Linked DNA regions of Homo sapiens: region 1 is linked to region 2. Evidence: promoter capture Hi-C in human tissues and cell types (Jung and others, 2019). All regions are on one chromosome and are shown on one strand. The core of a region is centred on a gene start or on the middle of the fragment in contact, and the rest is flanking DNA. Distances in the headings are between cores, read along the strand shown. Region 1 overlaps PCDHGA1 (protocadherin gamma subfamily A, 1). Region 2 holds the start of PCDHGA1 (protocadherin gamma subfamily A, 1).

Region 1 (6,976 bases), core at 3,574-6,073, 130 kb after region 2:
ACTAAATCCAATAAAAAGTCCTAGTAGACTCAGTGATAGTAAAACTTTCATGCTTCCTTTTTGCCAGTAACTATTATCCCTGCTATAAGGATACTAATTAAGCAAAATACGACAGCAATGGAAACTCTGTCCAATATTTCAGTTAGAAGGTGCTACCATGGATAACCCTATTGCAAATAGTAGAGTGAGGAAAGCAGTTCCCACAAATGTGGTGTGGTAGGTAATTTCCATCTAAAATTTTACTTGCCAACATATAGAATTCCCCTCTGTGGGCCTACGAAGTTCCTTGGTTTTATTTTCCCAAACAAAGAAACCTCCGGGTTACAGGTACCTTACTTACTTTCATTACCTGGCACAATTTGCAAAATAATTGCCCAGAACTAGCATATTGATTCACATTTTCACATTACCCATCCCTTTTTCCCCCCCACCAAGCTGCAGAAGATCACCACTTGATTCACAGGAATAAGCAGGGCCAGGGTTAGTCTAAAATGTAGGCAAAAAGCTTAAAAACAATTAATGAGACTAGGGTTTAATGACAAATGTATGATAAGCTTTGGAGCAAAATTTTTCTCTCCAGTCCTCATTTTTGGTAAAAACTAATTATGAATGAACTTTAATCTTATACTTGGCCTGATTATTTGCATGAAGTGCAGCAAGAATGGTTATTTCTACATAGGACTTTTGGATTGGCTTTGATGAAACACTGTTCCACAAGGAATTTCAGATTAGACTTTTAAAGCTGAGCCCAGACATGGGTTTGTATCCTCTAATACCTGTGAGTTGGGTTATCCTCTCCTCTTGAGGTCCCAAGATAAACTCAGAGCTTCCAGACCTGTTAGAAAGTGACATTCTTCACTGACCACAGGTTAGGAACCCTGTGTGGGGACTGTGTAGACAAGGTGTGAGGCCAGTTCTCCCCAAGGGGCTTTTATTGGCTCTGCATGTCAAGCTTGATTCCTTAAAGGGAAACACACCCTTTCAGTTAAAGCCTTGGCAAAATAACCGGTTTTTCCAATTGTGTTCTGTTGACAAAGAAAAATGGATTCTTGCTGCACTGATGCGAACAACTATATTGCCGTAAGTTAAGAGTACTTACAGATAGTCTCCAAATTTTAGAGGAACCAGGCAGAGAAAAATGAACATGCTCCAAATTTTGTTCACAGTAGTATACCTTACTTGATTATTAAAGGCCATAAATAGTTTAAAATAAGTTTCCTTTCCCAGTCCATGCACCAAAATGATACGGCTCTGATGAGTGGAGGAACAACAGGGTTCCTGGTCCTCATGCTGGTTTAGATAAAATGACACAGACACATGTGGAGTGGTTTTAAGGAGTGGAGAGTTTAATAAGCAAGAAGGAAGGGAGAAGAGAGAAGGAAGACGCTCCCCCTTGCAGAGACGGAGCGGGGGTTCCAAAGCTGAAAGAGGAGGTCCCCCACATTAACAATTTTTAAAATACCGTACAACTGCAGAAAATGAGGACTGCCTGTACATACTGTTTGACACTTTGTTTTTTTTTTTAACTTATCAACTTTATTTTGTTTGTTTGTTTTGGTTTTGGGTTTTTGTTTGTTTGTTTGTTTTGGAGACGAGTCTCACTCTGTCAGCCAGGCTGGAGTGCAGTGGCACAATCCCAGCTCACTGCAACCTCCACCTCTCGGGTTCAAGCAATTCTACTGCCTCAGCCTCCCGAGTAGCTGGGATTACAGGTATTCGCCACCACATCCAGCTATTGGTTTTGGTTTTTGAGACAGGGTCTTGCTGTGTCACACAGGCTGGAGTGCAGTGGTGTGATCTCAGCTCACTGCAACCTCTGCCTCCCAGGCTCAAGTGATCCTCCCACCTCAGCCTTCCAAGTAGCTGGGACTACAGGCATGCACACCATGCGCAGCTAATTTTTTCTATTTTTTGTGGAGACGGGGTCTCACTATGTTGCTTAGGTTGGTCACAAATTCACAGCCTCAAGCAGTCCTCCTGCCTCACCCTCCCAAAGTGCTGGGATTACAGGCATGAGCCACCACATCCAGCCTTACCAGCTATATTGAAGTATAATTTATATAACATAAAATTTGCCTTTTAAAATTATACAGTGCAATGCATTTTGACAATTGTTTACATCTGTGTAACCACCATGCAATCAAAATATAGAACATTTCTATAACCTTCAAAAGTTCCCTCATGCCCCTTTGCAATCAATTCACTACTTCTCCAGCTCCAGGCAACAACTGGTCTGCTTCCTGTCACTATAAATTAGTGTTGCCTCTTTCAGAATTTCATCTAAATGGAATCCTATAACATATACTATTTTGTATCCATCTTCTTTTACTCCAAAGTTCTTGAAATTCATTCATGTTCCTGTGTGTATCAGCAGCGTGTTCCATTTGATTGTTGAGCAGTATTGCATTGTGTGGATATATCACAATGTGTTCATTCATTCAACTGTTGGTGGACATTTGAGTTGTGTCCAGTTTAGTGCTATTCTGAATTAAAGTGATGTGAACAATCATGTACAAGTATTTTTGTAGGCATATTTTTTTTATTTCTCTTGGATAAATACCCCAAAACAGAATTGTTTTGGGGGTCATATGAAATGGGAAGTATATGCTTAACTTTATAAGAAGCTGCCAAACTATTTTTCAAAATGGTAATATCACTTTACATTTTCATGAGCAATGCATAAAGCGTTCCGCTTGCTACATTTTCTCACCAATGCTTCCTATTGTCAATTTTTTAAATTTTAGCAATTCTAGTGGGTGTGTGATACTATCTCATTGAAGTTTCAACTGTTTTTCCCTGTTGACTAGAGACACTGAGCAACTTTTCATGTGTTGTCTATTTGTATATCTTCTTGAAGCATTCGTTCATCTTTAACTGAGCTGAACGCCTTCTTAAAATTGAGCTATGGGAGTTTTAAAATATATCCTTGTAGCTGGGCGTGATGGCAGGTGCCTGTAATCCCAGCTACTCAGGAGGCTGAGACAGGAGAATCGCTTGAACCCAGGAGGCGGAGGTTGCAGTGAGCCGAGACTGCACCACTGCACTCCAGCCTGGGCAACAGAGTGAGACTTCATCTAAAAAATAATAATTATACATGTAATTATATATGATTTTTATATATGTAATATATATATTCTTGATGTGAGCTCTTTGTCACATACATATTTTGTGGATATTTTATCCCAGACTATGACTTGTCTTTTCATTTTCTTAGTTGTGTCTTTTGAAGAGCAGAAGATGTAATTTTGATAAAGCCCAATTTATTTTTTCTTTTATAGTTTGTATTTCTTATGTCCTATTCAAAAACTCCTTGCCTACTGAAAACTTATGATGATTTTCTCCTATATTTTCTTTTAGAAGTTTTATAGTTTTACCATTTATAATTTGGTCTATGAATCCTTTTGAGTTGATGTTTATGTATGGTGTATGGTGTGAGGTAACAATGAAGATTCATATTTTTTTCCAAAGGAATATCCAATTGTCTCTTTGGAAAAATATGCTGAGAAGGCTATCTTTTCCCCACCAAATAATCTTAGCACCTTAATCAAAAATCATTTGGCCATGGACATATGTAGGTGTGGGTTTTTTCTGGGCTCTCTGTGTTAGATGGATAGATAGACAGATACAGATATATAACTGTGTTTACACATATGTAACTGTAAACACAGTTATATATCTATATATCCACCAACAGTTGAATGAGAATAAACTATTGTTATAAGCATATATACACATTGTATATATATGTGTACATATACATATTGCATATGTATGTATACATATATACACACAAAGTATATATATGTATGTATACATATATACACACTTAAAGTAATGGCCTCCAGTTCGATCCAAGTTGCTGCAAAGGACATTATTTCATGCCTTTTCGTGGCTGAGTAATATTCCATGGTGTATATATATATATGTGTGTGTGTATATATATGTATTATGTATATATATATGTGTGTGTGTGTGTGTGTGTGTATATATATATATGTGTATATATATATACCACATTTTCTTTATCCACTCATTAGTCGATGGGGACTTAGGTTGGTTTCACATTTTTGCAATTGTGAATTGTGCTGCTATAAACATATGTGTCCAAGTGTCTTTTTCATATAATTACTTATTTTCCTTTGGGTAGATACCCAATAGTGGGATTGCTGGATTGAATGGTAGATCTGTTTTTTGCTCTTTAGAGAATCTCCATACTGTTTTCCATAGAGGTTGTACTAATTTATATTCCCAGCAGCAATGTGTAAGTGTTCTCTTTTCCCCACATCCACACCAACATCTATTGTTTTTTGACTTTTTAATAATGGCCATTCTTGCAGGACCAAGGTGGTAGCTCGTTGTGGTTTTAATTTGCATTTTCCTGATGATTAGCGATGTTGAGCATTTTTTCATATGTTTGTGGGCCATTTGTATACCTTCTTTTGAGAAATGGCTATTTGTGTCCTTTGCCTACTTTTTAATGGGATTGTGTTTTATTTTTCTTGGTGATTTGTTAGTTCCTTGTAGATTCTGGATACTAGTCCTTTGTCAGATGTGTACTTTGCAAAGATAATATTTTGGATGTTATATTTCCATTATAATTTAGTTCAAAGTATTTTCTAATACACCTTGCAATTTCTTCTTTGACCCATGGATTATTTTAAAGTTTGTTATTTTGTTTGTTTATTTTGAGACAGAGTTTCACTTTTTTTGCCCAGGCTGGAGTGCAGTGGCACAATCCCGGCTCCCAGATTCAAGCGATTCTCCTGCCTCAGCCTCCCAAGTAGCTGGGATTACAGGTGCCCACCACCACACCCAGCTAATTTTTTTTTCTTTTTTTTTTGAGACAGAGTTTTGCTCTTGTTGCCCAGGCTGGAGTGCAATGGCACGATCTCGGCTCACTGCAACCTCTGCCTCCTGGGTTCCAGCAATTCTCCTGCCTCAACCTCCTGAGTAGCTGGGATTCCAGGCATATGCCACCACGCCAGGCTAATTTTGTATTTTTAATAGAGACGGGGTTTCTTCATGTTGGTCAGGCGGGTCTTGAACTCCCGACCTCAGGTGATCTGCCCGCCTTGGCCTCCCAAAATGCTGGGATTACAGGCATGAGCCACTGCACCCAGTCCAATTTTTTGTATTTTTAGTAGAGATGGGGTTTCATCATGTTGGCCAGGCTGGTCTTGAACTCCTGACCTCAGGTGATCCGCCTGCCTCGGCCTCCCAAAGTGCAGGGATTACAGGTATGAGCCACCATGACCAGCCTAAAGTGTATTGTTTAGTCACCAAATATGTAAGTATTACCCAAATATATTTGTCACTGATTTCTAATTTAATTGTATTGTGATCCAAAAATATACATTGTATAGTTTCTATTCTTTTAAATTCGTTAACATTTCTTTTATGGCACAGAATATGGTCTATCTTGGTGAGTGTTGCTTACACACAACTGTGTAACTGAAAACTGTGTATTCTGCTTCTCGTGGTTGTTGTATCCTATAATTGTCAACTAGATCAAGTTAGTAAGAGTGTTGTTCAGTGATCTTTTCTTCTTCAGTGTTTACTGTATTTGCTAATCCCATCCAGTGAAGTTTCCATTTCATATATTGTATTTTTCACTTTTAGAAGTTCCATTTGACTCTTTCATTTCCATCCTCAATTATCTTCATATTTTTCTTTAAATTTTTGAGCACATTTATAATGGAGGTTTTAAAGTCCTTGTCTGCTAATTTTGTCACCTCTGTAATTCCTATGATGATTTTCTTCCTGGCTTGGGGTCATAATTTGTTGCTTATTTGCATGTCTAATAATGTTTTTATTGGACAGCAGACATTGTAAATGTTATATTTTTGAGTGTTTGGATTTTGTCTTTCTTTAAGAACTATTGCAGTTTGTTTTGGAAGGCTATTATGTTTTTTGCAGATCAGGTTGATCTTTTCAAGGCTTGTTTTTAAGCTTTGTTAGGACAGGTCTGTAGTAACTTTTGCCTTGGGCTAATTTAGACCTACCACTTAATTCTGACTTTTTTGATTAATCTGAGTGTTCAGCAGGGTCTCTTTATTATGGCTAAATGAAATTCAAACATTTTCCAGCCCTATGTGACCATCAAGAATTCAGCTAATAGCTCCCTGGCAGTTCTTCGCCCAGCTGCAGAAAAGTGTCAGTGCACTCTATGTATGCTCAGATTATTATTTAGCCAAAGACTTGGGGATCCATATTAATATTCCTGGAGTTCTTTGTGTAGCTCCATTCTCTTTAGTACTCTATCCCATAAATTCTGGCTGCCTCAATCTCCTAATCTCCCCAAACTCTAATATCTATTCCTCAACTCAGCAAAACCATGGTGTTATTCTTGGATTTCCCCTTTCCTGCCCCACAGTCTGAAAGTTGTCTCCAGGCAAAAAAAATGGAGATCCTAGTTTGCGGATCCTCATTTCCTTCTCCTTTTTTTTTTTTTTTTTTTTTTTTTTTTGAGATGGAGTCTCGCTCTGTCACCCAGGCTGGAGTGACGTGGCGTGATCTCGGCTTACTAGAAACTCCGGCTCCCGGGTTCATGCCATTCTCCTGCCTCAGCCTCCCGAGTAGCTGGGACTACAGGTGCCTGCCACCATGCCCGGCTAATTTTTTGTATTTTGTTTAGTAGAGACGGGGTTTCACCGTGTTAGCCAGGATGGTCTGGATGACCTCGTGATCTGCTCACCTCGGCCTCCAAAAGTGCTGGGATTACAGGCATGAGCCACCGCGCCCGGCCTGCTTCTCTTCTCTTATGGGTTAGAATCCTGCACTGTCTTTTGAACAAATGTCTAAAAGCTTTTATCACACATTTTGATCCACTTCCCAGTTGTTATAGTGGTATATCTGGTTTCACATGACTGAAAGGAAAAGTTTTCACCTTGCTTTTTGTACTAATAATATATCCTGGAAATCATTCTATATAAATTTATAGAAATCTTCATTTTTAAAATAGCTTCATAAAACTCCA
Region 2 (7,342 bases), core at 1,150-3,649:
AGGCCAGTGACCAGGGTTCAACTTGCTCAGTGTCATCCTGAACCTGCATGTGATGGTGGATGACCATTGCAAAAATGCAAGGACACTATGCCAGGAGTTGCAGCCAAGTGGGGCCCTCTTTGATGCTGCACCACTCACAATGCAACCCAGCTATCCCATCACCAAAGTGGACACCAGCTGGGGCATAAAGGCTGACTGTCCTATCATGTGCTTCAGGCCAGCTAATGTGGCTCTTCAAACTAGGGATGTGCACGAGCTAGATGCGTGCCGTGTCACTGTGGGTAACAGAGATGCAACCTGCCAAGGTTTGTTGGTCACCGTGGTCAATGGTGAATCATCACGCTGAAACATCACCTGGTTGCTGCTCATAGTTTGCAGGAGTTGCTACCAGACCTCAGCAATCGCCCAGCACCCAACAGCAGGCAGCAGACAGCACCCAACAGCTGGCGATGGCCGTTGCCTTGATCTCCATGCTGTTTCTCCTCAGTGTGACTCTGGCCATCTCTCTGAACCTGCAATGCCCCCTATAGCTCCATTGCCTGGGGCTGTTTTCAGCTGGATCTCTGGTCCAAGCCCGGATATGGAGTTGTCTCCAACTTAAAGAAAGGAAATTTGCCCTGTTCCTACAACGTATGTGTGGTTTTAGATATTTTTAAAATCTTAATTTCTTTAACTCAAGAAACAGCTTTGAACCAGGTATTCTCTGCAGTGCCAGCAATGAAGCTTTGTTTTATTTTTGTTTTTGTAGAAACGGGGTTCACTATATTGACCAAGCTGGTCTCAAACTCCTGGCCTCAAGTAATCTGCCCACCTTGGCCTCCCAAAGTGCTGGGATTGCAGGCGTGAGCCACTGTGTGTGGGCAGCAATGAAGCTTTAAATGTTGCATTTGATTCAAATGTATTTGTGTGATATTTTAACATTTTTATTTTATACTTACCATCCTTTTATAAATCACTCCTGCGTGTTTTTGGTTGCTGAAAGTAGGGAGCTCTACAGGTTTACTTACTAGTTCTTATGTATATTTTAATTTACCTCATTAGCTCACAATTTCTTTGGGGAAAAGTTTATGCCTATTAATGTGTATTCTGAAAAGTTACATTCTCTGTTAAAGAGTTACTTCCTTGCAATATTGAAGATGATTTATTGCACCTTTAAATTTCTACTCTTTGGCTCCATGTACTTGTCTTTGAGAAGCTGAGAAACTGTAGATTTGGTTAAGAACTAAAGTTCTCTTTCCAAAAACTATTATTGAGACCTTTCATTGTTTTCTTTCTTTCCTCATTTTTAACTTTTCTCAGTCATGGTGTCCATGGGTTGGCTGGCCGAATTTGTTCCTGAAATTATCAGACTCTGGAGTACAGATAGCATGCTTCTCTAACTTTGGGGTAAAGATAAGTAAGTCACTCTAAGCCTGAGACATTTTAATTAGTAACCCTTTGCTAATAGTGCAGTGATTAAAAAAAAAAGAAGGCCACATCCTCAACTGGTTAAAAAATACTGTTAAGAGAAAACCAACTTCTCTTGGAGAAAATATTAAGTGCGATTATAGAGGAATACATATTATAAGAGCCTATCTAAAAATAAAGATGAGACCATTTTTCTTTTCAGCTGTGAAGAATAATATCATAGACTTTGTCTCTGAAATTTGAAATCTAAATTATATATTCATGTGACTTTTCAATGAAATTCCAAGAGCCCAGTTTTATTTTTTTCAAAATATATTGCCTTTGGTGAATCTTAAGAATTTTTTAAAAACCCACATAATGCAAAGACACTTCAAAAAAAAAAAAGAGGAAAAATAAGGATAGGGTTAAACCATGCTCTTCAAAATCCCAAGGTTTCTGATAAATATTCAAATCATAATGGGAAGGAAATGGGATGGTATGATTTTTTTAAAGTCTAGCTTATATTCTAAAAGATTATTTTTCCCTCTAATACTTTTCACCCTCCAGTCAAAGGGGAGCTGCTCTATGTGGCCTGGGAAATTACCAAGTGGTCAAACTTTACTACAGAAAAAGTGGAGAGATGATTTTGTCCTCATTGTAATGTTAGGTTTTTACTATAATTCCCTGAATAGCAAACTTGGAAAGCAGATAACATGGGAATACTTGGATTCTCCTGTATATTTCAATTTGGTGACATTTAGGCACATTTAAAGAAGTGAACATATAGTTTCTCTTTTTCATACATATATTGTAGAATTATTTCCTTGACAATAGACTAAAACTTAAGAAAATAACAAGTTAATGAGAAGGTTTTCAGTATTTGCTAGGAATGCAGTAACTGGTTAGGACTGTGGGCGCCGCTGTTCACTAATCTGGTAGATACAGGCAGTACACACAGGTCAGGAGGAGGAAAAAAAAAAAAAAGAAAAAGAAAAAAGCTCTCGTGCCTCTTAGAACCTCCATAACCGCCAGATTGAAAACTGACTGTCCAAGACTGCCTAAATCCTACTTCTGGATGACTCTCCAGTCAGAATTCTCCTGAAAATTGGGTTAATTTCAGCTCAGAAAAGCAGAAACGATACCCTTGGTACTGGACTGGAAGAAAACTACGAAGTGAGAGAGCCATGAAGATTCAGAAAAAGCTGACTGGCTGCAGCAGGCTGATGCTTCTGTGTCTTTCTCTGGAGCTGCTGTTGGAAGCTGGGGCTGGGAATATTCACTACTCAGTGCCGGAAGAGACAGACAAAGGTTCCTTCGTAGGCAACATCGCCAAGGACCTAGGGCTGCAACCCCAGGAGCTGGCAGATGGCGGAGTCCGCATCGTCTCCAGAGGTAGGATGCCGCTTTTCGCTCTGAATCCTAGAAGTGGCAGCTTGATCACCGCGCGCAGGATAGACCGGGAGGAGCTCTGCGCTCAGAGCATGCCGTGTCTCGTGAGTTTTAATATCCTTGTTGAGGATAAAATGAAGCTTTTTCCTGTTGAAGTAGAAATAATTGATATTAATGACAACACTCCCCAATTCCAGTTAGAGGAACTGGAGTTTAAAATGAATGAAATAACGACTCCAGGTACCAGAGTCTCATTGCCTTTTGGGCAAGACCTTGATGTGGGTATGAACTCACTCCAGAGCTACCAACTCAGCTCTAACCCTCATTTCTCCCTGGATGTGCAACAGGGAGCCGATGGGCCTCAACATCCAGAGATGGTGCTGCAGAGTCCCTTAGACAGAGAAGAAGAAGCTGTCCACCACCTCATCCTCACAGCTTCTGATGGGGGTGAACCAGTCCGTTCAGGGACCCTCAGAATTTACATTCAGGTGGTGGATGCAAATGACAATCCTCCAGCATTTACTCAGGCACAATACCATATAAATGTCCCCGAAAACGTGCCGCTGGGTACTCAGCTGCTCATGGTAAATGCCACTGACCCTGATGAGGGAGCCAATGGGGAAGTAACGTACTCCTTTCACAATGTAGACCACAGAGTGGCCCAAATATTTCGTTTAGATTCTTACACAGGAGAAATATCAAATAAAGAACCACTAGATTTCGAAGAATACAAAATGTATTCAATGGAAGTTCAAGCCCAGGATGGTGCGGGGCTCATGGCTAAAGTTAAGGTACTGATCAAAGTTTTGGATGTAAATGATAATGCCCCAGAAGTGACCATCACCTCTGTCACCACTGCAGTTCCAGAAAACTTTCCTCCTGGGACCATAATTGCTCTTATCAGTGTGCATGACCAGGACTCAGGAGACAATGGCTACACCACATGTTTCATTCCTGGAAATTTACCCTTTAAATTGGAAAAGTTAGTTGATAATTATTACCGTTTAGTGACTGAAAGAACACTGGACAGAGAACTTATCTCTGGGTACAACATCACAATAACAGCAATAGACCAAGGAACTCCAGCTCTATCTACTGAAACTCACATTTCACTACTAGTGACAGATATCAATGACAACTCCCCAGTCTTCCATCAGGACTCCTACTCTGCCTACATTCCCGAAAACAACCCCAGAGGAGCCTCCATCTTCTCTGTGAGGGCCCACGACTTGGACAGCAATGAGAATGCACAAATCACTTACTCCCTAATAGAGGACACTATCCAGGGGGCACCCCTATCTGCCTACCTCTCCATCAACTCCGACACTGGGGTCCTGTATGCGCTGCGATCCTTCGACTATGAGCAGTTCCGGGACATGCAACTGAAAGTGATGGCGCGGGACAGTGGGGATCCGCCCCTCAGCAGCAACGTGTCTCTCAGCCTATTCCTGCTGGACCAGAACGACAACGCGCCCGAGATCCTGTACCCCGCCCTCCCCACAGATGGTTCTACCGGCGTGGAGCTGGCGCCCCTCTCCGCAGAGCCCGGCTACCTGGTGACCAAGGTGGTGGCGGTGGACAGAGACTCGGGCCAGAACGCCTGGCTGTCCTACCGCCTGCTCAAGGCCAGCGAGCCGGGACTCTTCTCGGTGGGTCTGCACACGGGCGAGGTGCGCACGGCGCGAGCCCTGCTGGACAGAGACGCGCTCAAGCAGAGTCTCGTGGTGGCCGTCCAGGACCACGGCCAGCCCCCGCTCTCCGCCACTGTCACGCTCACCGTGGCCGTGGCCGACAGGATCTCCGACATCCTGGCCGACCTGGGCAGCCTCGAGCCCTCCGCCAAACCCAACGATTCGGACCTCACTCTGTACCTGGTGGTGGCGGCGGCCGCGGTCTCCTGCGTCTTCCTGGCCTTCGTCATCGTGCTGCTGGCGCACAGGCTGCGGCGCTGGCACAAGTCACGTCTGCTACAGGCTTCGGGAGGCGGCTTAGCGAGCATGCCCGGTTCGCACTTTGTGGGCGTGGACGGGGTTCGGGCTTTCCTGCAGACCTATTCCCACGAGGTCTCCCTCACTGCGGACTCGCGGAAGAGCCACCTGATTTTCCCCCAGCCCAACTATGCGGACACACTCATCAGCCAGGAGAGCTGTGAGAAAAAGGGTTTTCTATCAGCACCCCAGTCTTTACTTGAAGACAAAAAGGAACCATTTTCTCAGGTAAACTTTTGTGATGAATGTATCAGCTATCTAGAGAAAAATAATTCTTGATTTAACTTACTAGCGTTCGCTCTTTGCTACAGATAGTTCTTCTAACCCATGTATCTTTGTAGCTTTTTATTACAAGTCCTGCAAAATCACGATTGAGTCTACACGTTCATATGCAGGTATATTTATAATTGTTCTTGCACTGAAAAGGAGACTGTGATCATAATGTAGGTGGTTGGGTTGAAGGTATGTGTGAGATGCCATCTCTGTTTGGAAAGAGCACTGCATTAGAAACGGCGATCTAGCTTCTAACATTTTCTTACTTGCCTCTGGGCTAAAAGGTTTGATTAGAAAAGGCTCACCAATATTTAAATGACTAACACTATTTTCAAATTTTCTTTTTATAAGTACCTGCTAATCTACCCCTGAATTTAATGTAGATGTCATCTGTCAGGACACTGTGATAGTTTATTTGGGGACATTTGAAGAGGTGAAGATTGTCTAAAGTAGTATTTTTAGTTGTGTTCATATAAGATTATAGAGATCTATATAAACTGCAATTTTAAATTATTGTTGAATATTTTAGCCTTTTATTCTATCTTTATTATCAGATTTTTTTGGTTTTGAGATGGGGTCATGCTAGAGTGCAGTGGCATGATCATGGCTCACTGCAGCCACTACCTCCTGGGCTCAAGCGATCCTCCCACCTCAGCCTCTCAAAGTGCTGATATTACAGGTGTGAGCTGTGGTGCCTGTACTGAAGAATACGTCTATTTAAGTAATGTATGAAGTAACAAAATGAACAACACAAAATTTATCATGCAACTTGAGAAATATCTTTGAAGCCTCCTGACTTATACATTATACCTGTAATGAAATCAGCTAACAAAAATCAAGTATATATCCTATTTTAATGTGTGTTAACTTTTCAGAAGAAAAAAAAAGTATGGTCGGGGAGTAAGTCCATGCTTTGATGTATTTACTCTGCTCCAATAAAATACAGAGATACATAAAATATAAGAGGAAAGCAAAAGCAAAGTGGTGAGCTAGTCTAAAGCCATGTGAGTTATAGTCTTGGACTTAAAAGCAGAAATTGAAGGTTAGGAAACTGCCTCCAGCAATGTAATAGGGACAGAAGTGCTTCAGACTAGATAAATATCTGGACCAGGCTTACTGCCTGAATCCAAAATAAGCAATGAGGCCCTTCAGCTGGTTAAAAAGGAAAAGAAAGATGCATTAACATGCTGCCTAGCTGGGCGCAGTGGCTCACGTCTGTATTTCCAACAATTTGAGAGGCTGAGGCGGAAAGATCCTTGGAGCCCTGGAGTTCAAGACCAGCCGGACAGGGCGGCCTGCGACTGTAGTCCCAGCTACGCGGGGCGGGGAGGGGCGGGGCGGGGCGGGGCAGGAGCTGACGTGGGAGGATCCCTTGAGCCCAGGAAGTCAAGGCTTCAGCGAACCGTGATCGCGCCACTGCCCTCCAGCCTGGGCGACAGAGCCACACCCTGTTAAATAAATAAATATAATAATAAAAGCTGTTTCCCAATTCCGGTGGTTATAACTTTCTTCGTAAGCTGTGTAGACCAAGAGAGAGAGACAGACACGGATGCTGGATAGAGACAGCGAACACCAAGTATCTCATATGTGAGCTGTGGTATCCAGAATATCACTGCTGTGCATCATTAAAGCGTCATTAAGAGACCTAGTTATGGCCTGGGACCTGAGGTCAGATAGAAACTATTTCAAAACCATTACAAATGAGCACTGAACCCAGGAGGGAAGGAGAGAGGGATATAGTGTAGAAGAGAAAAAAACAAACTAAAACTAAAAACAAACAGAGCTCTTCCACTAAAAATAAATATACAAACCAAAATTTCAAAACACACTTGTCTCGTAGAATTTATTGTTACTAGTGAGAAACTTTCTGTCAACACACTGTTATTTTTTAAGGTAATCTCTGTTTTCTCTCTGGTAACTATTGAAGACTTTCTCTCATTCTTGCTGTGTGTCTGTTGCATTTTTATTTTTATTTTTTGCTTGGTACCAAGAGTATACTCTCAATTGATAACTAAGTTATCTCACTTCTGGACTTTCTCAGCTCTTATAATCATAATTTTTTTTCTGTGTATATACAAGTGAGCTACATTTACCTATTAAAGGACAAATATTACAAAACTGGTTGATTTTTAAAATCCATATTCTAATAATACACGTGCTTAAAATAAAAATACACTGAAACAGTGAAACTAAATATATATGTACACACACAAAAAAGAAAGTCATGTTAATGTAACAACAAAGTCATATTTAAGGTAACAAACACAAATTGTGATTTTAAAAAATGAACTGATTATAGTTGTAAA

Evidence for each region. Contacts are between HindIII fragments. The study calls those that stand out against the background at their distance.
Region 1: a fragment that was not itself captured here is called in contact with the fragment with the promoter of PCDHGA1 in region 2 in 4 of the 25 tissues and cell types used here (aorta, dorsolateral prefrontal cortex, hippocampus and 1 more).

The regions. Positions count from the first base shown.
Region 1 is chr5:141,457,001-141,463,976 of GRCh38, forward strand. The region is part of intron 1 of PCDHGA1 (protocadherin gamma subfamily A, 1); the gene reads left to right. All of the region lies in intron 1 of PCDHGA2 (protocadherin gamma subfamily A, 2), which reads left to right. The region is part of intron 1 of PCDHGA3 (protocadherin gamma subfamily A, 3); the gene reads left to right. All of the region lies in intron 1 of PCDHGB1 (protocadherin gamma subfamily B, 1), which reads left to right. It also overlaps PCDHGA4, PCDHGB2, PCDHGA5, PCDHGB3, PCDHGA6 and PCDHGA7, and 10 more genes. Among named protein-coding and RNA genes, the nearest start is that of PCDHGC3, 15 kb to the right of the region's middle. The HindIII fragment of the contact is 8,589 bases long and covers 530-6,976 here.
Region 2 is chr5:141,328,115-141,335,456 of GRCh38, forward strand. It overlaps PCDHGA1 (protocadherin gamma subfamily A, 1), which reads left to right and starts at 2,400. Exons shown (of 4, transcript NM_018912.3): 1 at 2,400-4,991. The coding sequence starts at 2,571. It also overlaps PCDHG@. RefSeq lists a silencer at 5,556-5,785. The HindIII fragment of the contact is 6,267 bases long and covers 1-5,146 here.